2 separate regions of the Homo sapiens genome follow, and region 1 is linked to region 2. Evidence: promoter capture Hi-C in 16 types of primary human blood cells and fetal thymus (Javierre and others, 2016). All regions are on one chromosome and are shown on one strand. The core of a region is centred on a gene start or on the middle of the fragment in contact, and the rest is flanking DNA. Distances in the headings are between cores, read along the strand shown.

Region 1 (3,907 bases), core at 1,015-3,514, 550 kb before region 2:
AGCTTCAATAAAAAAAAGATTTCCCATACAATTGCAGAAATTTCTCTCAAAAGAGAAATGAGAGAATACAGAAAAATGAAGACAATTCCCCCTTACACGTCAAAATGGGGATGCCAATAATGACAGCTGCGATAAAAATCAAGAAGGCGTACCCCGAATTTTCACCATTTTAATAAAAGAAAATCACGAAATTTTAAATTAAAGGTGGCGCTCTGTCCTCAACTCACCCGAATGTGACTCACTTTTGCAGACTATATGGTAGGAAATTAACAGTTACTTTTCAAAGATCTTTGCAGTTACACCCAAGCCAAAATCAGGACAGAGATCCACCCTTAATTACAGCAATTTAGCTGTCTTATCTAAAGCAAGGTAAAAACTAAAACGTCCTCCTGAAATCATAGCTAAATAAGCCCATTTCATATACTAGCTATCAAAGGTTCCCAATTAAAAAAAAAATGTTTCTATTTACTTCAAATTTGAACTCACCAGGAGGATAAAGAAAAAGAGAGGGGAGGAGGAGGACCCAAATGAAACGCACAAGTACAAAAAGCAGATTCTCCTCCAATCCCTCTTAATTCCCCCAATCCACCCCTGCCACACACAAGGACAGGGAGTCTCGGGAAGGCTGGCATCGGGGCAAGTGGTGAAGGCCCTCCATTCACTCACGTGGGCCACCATCCAAAGGGTTACACACCCTCTGCCAGATGAGAGCCTCATACAAACCAGGCCCTTACAAGTACTTCTTATTATAAAATACACCCACGCTGAACAAAAGCCTTATTTTAAAATAAGACTGTCCTCAGGTGGGGGAGGTTAAACACAACAAAGGCTTCCATGTTGACAGGCAGACAAGTTCAGATATATGCATATACCTACACACGTATGAAAAAAATCTATGTAGCTAATTTATCACGAACAGCAATCGATACCAACAGAAGCCATTAGATTATTAATAAACCAAGAAAAGTAGCGGGCACAGAAGCGAAAGGTGGCTGTCTGCAGCGCTCTAACCCAAAGAAAAGGTAAATATCAGCCTGTCGAGGAGGGTCGAGCCCTCCAAGTACCTGCAGACCCCTTTAACCCACCCGGACGCCCTGCCCTCCCCTCCGAGCCAAGCAGCGCACAGGGTGCGAGCACTCCCAGCGCTGCGAGTCCCGCAGAAAACTGGTGAATGAAATGCGCACAGAGACCAACCTGGCTGGTGACCGCGGCGCAGAACCAGGGGTCGCTAACCAGCTTAGCCACAGGATTCTCCCGCAGGATGGGATAAAGAGAGCACAGCCCCCACCCCACACCCCTGCCACTGGAACGCGGTCCTCCTACAGACTCCTTCCTCAAAAAGGGAGGTGGGGGCGCAGGCTTTTTTCTCTTAAACTAAGTGAATAAACACGAATCGGAAACAACTGTGAACATCCTGGGGGGCCAGACGGAAGGCGTGAGGAGAAAGACCAGGCGGCTCTCCAACTCCCGAGGAATCACCGTCCTGACACGCCAACAATCAACCACCAGGGCCAGGGGCCGACCAGGGGCCCCCGCTCCCCTCCCGCAGTGCGTCTGGGGGGCCGAGGCCAAGGATTAGAGGGGTGACCCTCCCGGGGCGCGGGGAGAGGGAGTGCCGGGCACGGTGCCCTCAAGGTCACCACGCGCCGTGGCGGGGGCGACCGGTGGCGGGATGGGCTGTGGCGCGGCCGAGGCGGCTTCGTGAAGCCGAAGACCTGCGGGTGTAGACCAGAAGCCCCAACAAGCCCCATCCCTCGGGCCCGGAGCAGCGACTCCCAGACTGACCCGGCGCTGAGGTGCACGGCGAGAAGCCCGCTCACCTTCACAATCTCCCGGCAAGAGGCAACCTGCGAGGGGCCCCGACCGCCCCCGTCAGCTTCTCCCGAATCCGGCGCAACCCGCTGCGCACCCAGCTATCAGGATCCCCGCCGCGACGCCCGACCTCCGTGCTCCGCCTGGCCTCCCCCGCAGGTGACCTGCCCCGCCGCCCCCGGCCGCGGGCGGGCGGCGGCCGCCACTCACCTCGCCCGGCAGTGGGAACCATTTTCCGAGGGGGAAGGAAAGGCAGGCTGCGGGAGGGTCGCGGGGCGTTAAGGGGCAGCGGGAAACGCAGAGGATGGGGGCTCCGTCCTCAGCGCGTCCGCAGCCGGCTCGCAGGGCTCGGGGCGCCACGCGGAGGTGCAGCTGCACCTCGGGGATGGGGCGGCCAAGGAGCCGAGAGGCTCGGCGTCCACCAGCCGGGGCTCCCTACTCACGCTGCACTGCGAGGAGGCGGCGGCGGCAGCGAAGGAGGAGGAGGCGGCGCCCGGCCGTCCCCGCCCAGAGCCCGGCAGCCACCGAGTGGCCGCCCGCGTCCCCGCAGGACCCGCCTCCTCGGCTCCGCAGAGCGGCACACAGGGCGCGCCGCGCTCGCTCGGCACGGGCAGCTCAGCCGGCCTCACGCCGCCGTCCGCAACAGCAGCCGCGGGCGGGGTGCAGCCACCTCCGTGAGCGCCGCAGCCCGCCCCACTCGGGGCGGGGCCCGCGGGCACCGGAGAGCGGACGGCCGAGCACGAGGGGGCTGCGCGCAGCTCCGGGCAGGGACCCCGTCTGCACCGGGTGGCCTGCAAGATTGCCGGGGTAGGCAGGGGGAGGAGAACGCTCACCCGTTCCGGTCTGGCGCTCCCTTTTCTCCACACCCACACGCCTCCCGCTCCACGCTGGCGGCGCAGCTGCTCCCGCTGCCACAGCCGCCACCGCCGCCGAAGCTCGCGCCGCCGCCGCTGCCGCCTTGGCTGAGCGCGGTCACGTGACGCGATCCGCGGGGAGCCTGGGGGCGGGCGAGTGCGCGCGCGCGCGCGCGGAGGAACCGCGGCTCGGACCGGGACTGGGAGCTGAGCGGCACTGGGAGGGCGTTTAAGGGGAGGACCCGGCGAGCGCGCCCTCGGCTGGCGAGCGCGCGCCTGGCGATTAGAACTTGCCGCGCGGTCGGGAAAGGGTGGCCGGAGTGAGGGGCGGAGGTGGGGACTTGCGCCTCCGCACGCCCCTCCCTTTCTTCCTTCCCCTGAGCGCCTTGGCTTGCCGCTGCCCCCGCCCCCTCCAGCGCGCCCCTTCCCTCCTGCCGCAGCCTGCGATTGGCTGAGAGGCTCTGACGTCCGTGTTTCCATGACGTGTTGGTGCAGGAGGGAGCGGCGGGGGAGGAGGGGGTGGCCAGGCGCGCGGGGAGGTGACTCCGTCAGTCACAGCTGCTGTTTCGGCGCGGGGCCGGGCCGCTGCCGCGACGTGTGGAGGCAGGAGAGCGATGATTGCCGCAGGAGAAGTGCGGGCGCCCTTCACCTGGGGCCCCTCCCGAACCGCCCCCGGGCCCATGCCCCTCCAGGGCCCAGGAGCGAGCCAGCGGGAGGGCGAGGGCGAGCGCTCCTGGCGAGGACAGATTAAGGCGAACCCCCAGTCAGCGGACATTTGAGCGGCTCCTCGCCGCGTCTCTGCCCCCACTCCAAACCGGACTCGACGCCTGTCCCGGGCCGTGACGCACGCACCGGAGGAAAAAGTGCTTCTCGGCTCGCTCCCTCTTTGGGGAAGAGAGCTCACTCCCCATGCGGGCGCGGGACACTCCATCTCTGTTCCTGCCGGTCGGGTCCGCAAACACCGGGGATCCCAGCTGCGGCGCCCAAAGGGTTAACGCAGGCGTTCGGCCAGTGCAAACCGGCCTCGCAGGATCCGCGCTTAAAATCCGGGTGTTTTCATTTTGGGTTTGTTTCTTCTACTATGCCAAGCTGGTGGCTCTCTTTTAATTCTCTTGTAACATCTCAACCCTGCACCCATCTTTCCTGAGGGGAAAAGGAAACGGGATAACTTGCGGTATTTCGATGCTCAAAGGTAACCGGCGGCTCTGCTCCAACCTTCAAGAGATTTTGCAAGTTGAAAA
Region 2 (3,642 bases), core at 896-3,395:
GTACAATGCTTTCAGATCTGTCTTTTATAAAGAAAAGCCATAAATGTAAACATTTTCTGTATAAAATCACCCAAGTTGCAAATGCTTACAACCAGTTCAAAATTTTAAAAAAGACCTATGACCTATGACCAAACAAATCATGTTTACAGGCTGGACTTGGCCTGGGGTTCACCTGTCTACAATCTGTGCTCTTTACAACCTGTGATCTTGAACTTGAGCTCTTGGTTTTTTCTCTTTTTTTTGAGACAGGATCTCACTTTGTTGTCCAGCCAGAGTGAAGTGGCATGAACACGACTCACTGCAGCCTCAACCTTCCAGGTTCATGTGATCCTCCAGCCTCAGCCCCGCCAAGTAGCTGGGACTACAGGCACATGCCATCACAGCAGCTAATTTTTGTATGTTTTGGTATAGACAGGGTTTCACCATGTTGCCAAGGCTGGTCTTGAACTCCTGAGGTCAAGAGATCCACACACCTTAGCTTCCCAAAGTGTTGGGATTACAGGTGTGAGCCACTGTGCCTGGCCTTGTTTTTCTTTATTTCCTTTTTTTTTTTTTTTTTTTTTTTTGTGACAGAGTCTCACTCTGTTGCCCAGGCTGGAGTGCAATGGCAGCATCTCGGCTCACTGCAACCTCTGCCACCCAGGTTCAAGTAATTCTCCTGCCTCAGCTTCCCGAGTAGCTGGGATTACAGGCATCCACCATCACACCCGGCTAATTTTTGTATTTTTTGTAGAGACAGGGTTTCACCATGTTGGCCAAGCTGGTCTTGAACTCCTGACGTCAGGTGATCTGCCCCAAAGTGCTGGGATTACAGGTGTGAGCCACCATGCCTGGCCCTGGCCTTGTTTTTCAATTTTGAGGTCAGTGTCCTCTGCTCATGGACACCTTTCAGACAAACTACCTGAGGACCACACTCTGCAGCTGCATGTTCCTGAATCTTGCCATTGCATTTTCCTGAGTATATTTGGTCTCTTTGACTCACTACACACACCCTCCCAAGATGGCACCCTTTACCCTGGATCTTGTTCCTGGGTTTAACAGATATTAGATGAGAGTTACCGTGGTTCACACCAAATTAGGTGGGGTATGTCAGAGAGTCGAGGATGAGGAAGGTGGATAGTTTGGGCTCTGGTTTAAAGGTTTATTATTGGAGAAAGATGTCATCTGAAGAAAGGGACTTCCATTTCCCATTTCTCCCTTCCTTCCTTTTTCCTTCCCTCTGCCCTATGGTAACCTTAGTCTAATCTCTGTCCTCAATCAGCAGGTTTGCTGACATTTAGAGGGCTGTTATGGCAGTCATGTCTTTCTGAGGCCTTGCCTTTTTAATGAACATTTGGCTGGGGAAAGGGGGCAATCTAGAACAGCTGTGTCCAAACTTTTTAGATTGCATGTCTTCTTACCAATAAAAAATTAAGCATTCTTCCCTATATGTATATTTACTTATTATTTGATATGCAATCTAGTGTTCCAGTGTATTATGCACATTTTCAAACACACGTAAAATATTGATTTAAAATAATGTGATGAAATATAAACATATTTGGGAGGCTGAGGCGGGAGGATCATGAAGTCAGGAGATTGAGATCATCCTGGCTAACATGGTGAAACCCCGTCTCTACTAAAAATAAAAAAAATTAGCCGGGCATGGTGGCGGGCGCCTGTAGTCCCAGCTACTTGGGAGGCTGAGGCAGGAGAATGGCGTGAACCTGGGAGGCGGAACTTGCAGTGAGCTCAGATCTCGCCACTGCACTCCAGCCTGGGCGACAGAGCAAGACTCCATCTCAAAATAAATAAATAAATAAATAAAAATTAAAAAATATAAACATAAGCTTCATTCTCTCTTTCCAGTCCGTGGGGAATTGTCAGGTACACTTCATGGGGTGGAGATACCCAGGTCTAGAGACACATCAGACTCTAGGGTGGATGCTTTACCAGATGGGCTGTGTGAGTGCCTGCCTTACCTGATTTTTTGGTCAATTTTGCACTGGAGTGCTGTCCAGGATGTAAGTGCCCTGACAAATATGCAAGCCTAGAGCCTCATCCTCAGGACGACTGCTGGGAATCTCTGCAGGGCCCTTGGGGTTGAACAGCTGCTTGCTGAGCCTTTGACCTGAGAACCAGAGACTTATGTGTCTCTTCACTCATATTTTCTTTCTTCATTGTTTAAGAGTTGTGCAGATCACCAAAAACATAATAAAAATAATGGGAGCTGTGTACAAGCCTCACTTGGGCAGAAAAGTTGGATATCAATCCCAAAATACAGATCTGCTTGCTGCATGGAATCTGAAGATTTAATGTGCTCATGTCCCATCTAACCACAGCACCCTTCTCAGGGTGATCTCACTCCTTATGGAAATAATGGAGTTGGATTGGTTTTTTTCAAGATTATTAGGGTGTGTTTATCATATTCTCTGGATTACTGAGTTTATAACCTCTGTTCCATGATGCCAGAAACAAAGTCAGAAGCTTCAGTGTGCAAGGCCTCATCATCCTCCCTAAACCTGGAGGGCAGATTTATTTTAACAGCTGTACATTACCTGATTGGAATAACGAGACTTGTGAAAAGGTCAAGGAGAAAGAGCTAAACAGCACATCTGTTCCAATCACAGAACCATATTTCTAGGAAGCTGGAAAAGCAAACATTCTAACATTCTATTTGTAGAAAATCCCAACAGTCATTTTAAGCATAATTTCACTGTGACTGTAAAAGAAAGTATTTGTCTTCTTCCTTCTTAATATTCCTTTTTCAAGAGATGGAGTTACATAGTGAAGTATTGCATCTGTCAGATGTTCTTTTGAACCCTGACAAAAAGTTTATGTGACTTTTTATTTTACCAAGCATTATTTTTTCTTCCACTAGTCCTATGTTTATCCTCAAAAACTTTATTGCAATCCTGGGCGTTCTGATTGAAAAGGAGTCACCAAGAATTCTGAATGTTTTCCTGGTGTGCTGTCACTCAAGATATCTTCTATAGTTCTTTTATCCACAACTCTTTTCAAATTAAATTTTATTAACTGAAATCATCCTCTTTCTAAAATAGGAAGGCATCCTGACTTGGACAAAGCTAAACTGTGCATTCCTTTTACTAAACTGTCAAGATTAATCCTTACTGTCCCTGCTGTTACAGTCTTAATTCTTCACTGACAACTGTGAGCACATGTGCTATGAGAAGAGACAGCTGGTTGAAGTGTCTCATTTTGACAAACATTATCTGTGGTTCAGTGTCAACCTGGGGAGATACAGCAAATGGCATTCCATTGAGATTGCTTCTTGGGCAGTGAACATTTTAACCAGTGACTTAGATCCTGGAGTAAAAAATATGCTTAGAATGTCTGTGATAGGGACTAAAGTTTGTAATGGGAGCAGATCTACTCCCTGACCTACTCTTCTCTACTTTAAAAACTCACTATGGCTTGGAGAAGTTATGGATGATTTTATATAAAGAAGTAGAAATCCCAGTAACAATTACATGTGCCACCTCTTTTGAATAAACTGTTATAAGGCAGGCAAAGACTTTCTACTGGGCTCTACCTTCATCCTAGACTGACTCCTTTATCTTTTCTTTGCTTCCATGAAGCTGAAGATTGTTTACTCTAATTCCTGTTTGCCACTGCCTGAGACCCAGCCTGGGTTTTCATCAT

What was found. The method cuts DNA at HindIII sites, captures the fragments that hold promoters and counts their contacts. A CHiCAGO score of 5 or more calls a contact.
Region 1: a contact is called between the fragment with the promoter of ATP2B1 here and a fragment that was not itself captured in region 2, in 2 of 17 cell types (naive B cells and total B cells). The highest score is 10.3, in naive B cells.

The regions. Positions count from the first base shown.
Region 1 is chr12:89,706,574-89,710,480 of GRCh38, forward strand. It overlaps ATP2B1 (ATPase plasma membrane Ca2+ transporting 1), which reads right to left and starts at 2,265. Exons shown (of 21, transcript NM_001366521.1): 1 at 2,023-2,265. It overlaps ATP2B1-AS1 (ATP2B1 antisense RNA 1), which reads left to right and starts at 2,382. Exons shown (of 1, transcript NR_028138.1): 1 at 2,382-3,907. RefSeq lists enhancers at 1,144-1,233, 1,244-1,343 and silencers at 1,534-1,763, 1,914-2,933, 2,954-3,503. The HindIII fragment of the contact is 7,681 bases long and covers 1-3,907 here.
Region 2 is chr12:90,258,267-90,261,908 of GRCh38, forward strand. The region is part of intron 2 of LOC105369892 (a long non-coding RNA gene); the gene reads left to right. Among named protein-coding and RNA genes, the nearest start is that of LINC02392, 33 kb to the right of the region's middle. The HindIII fragment of the contact is 637 bases long and covers 1,828-2,464 here.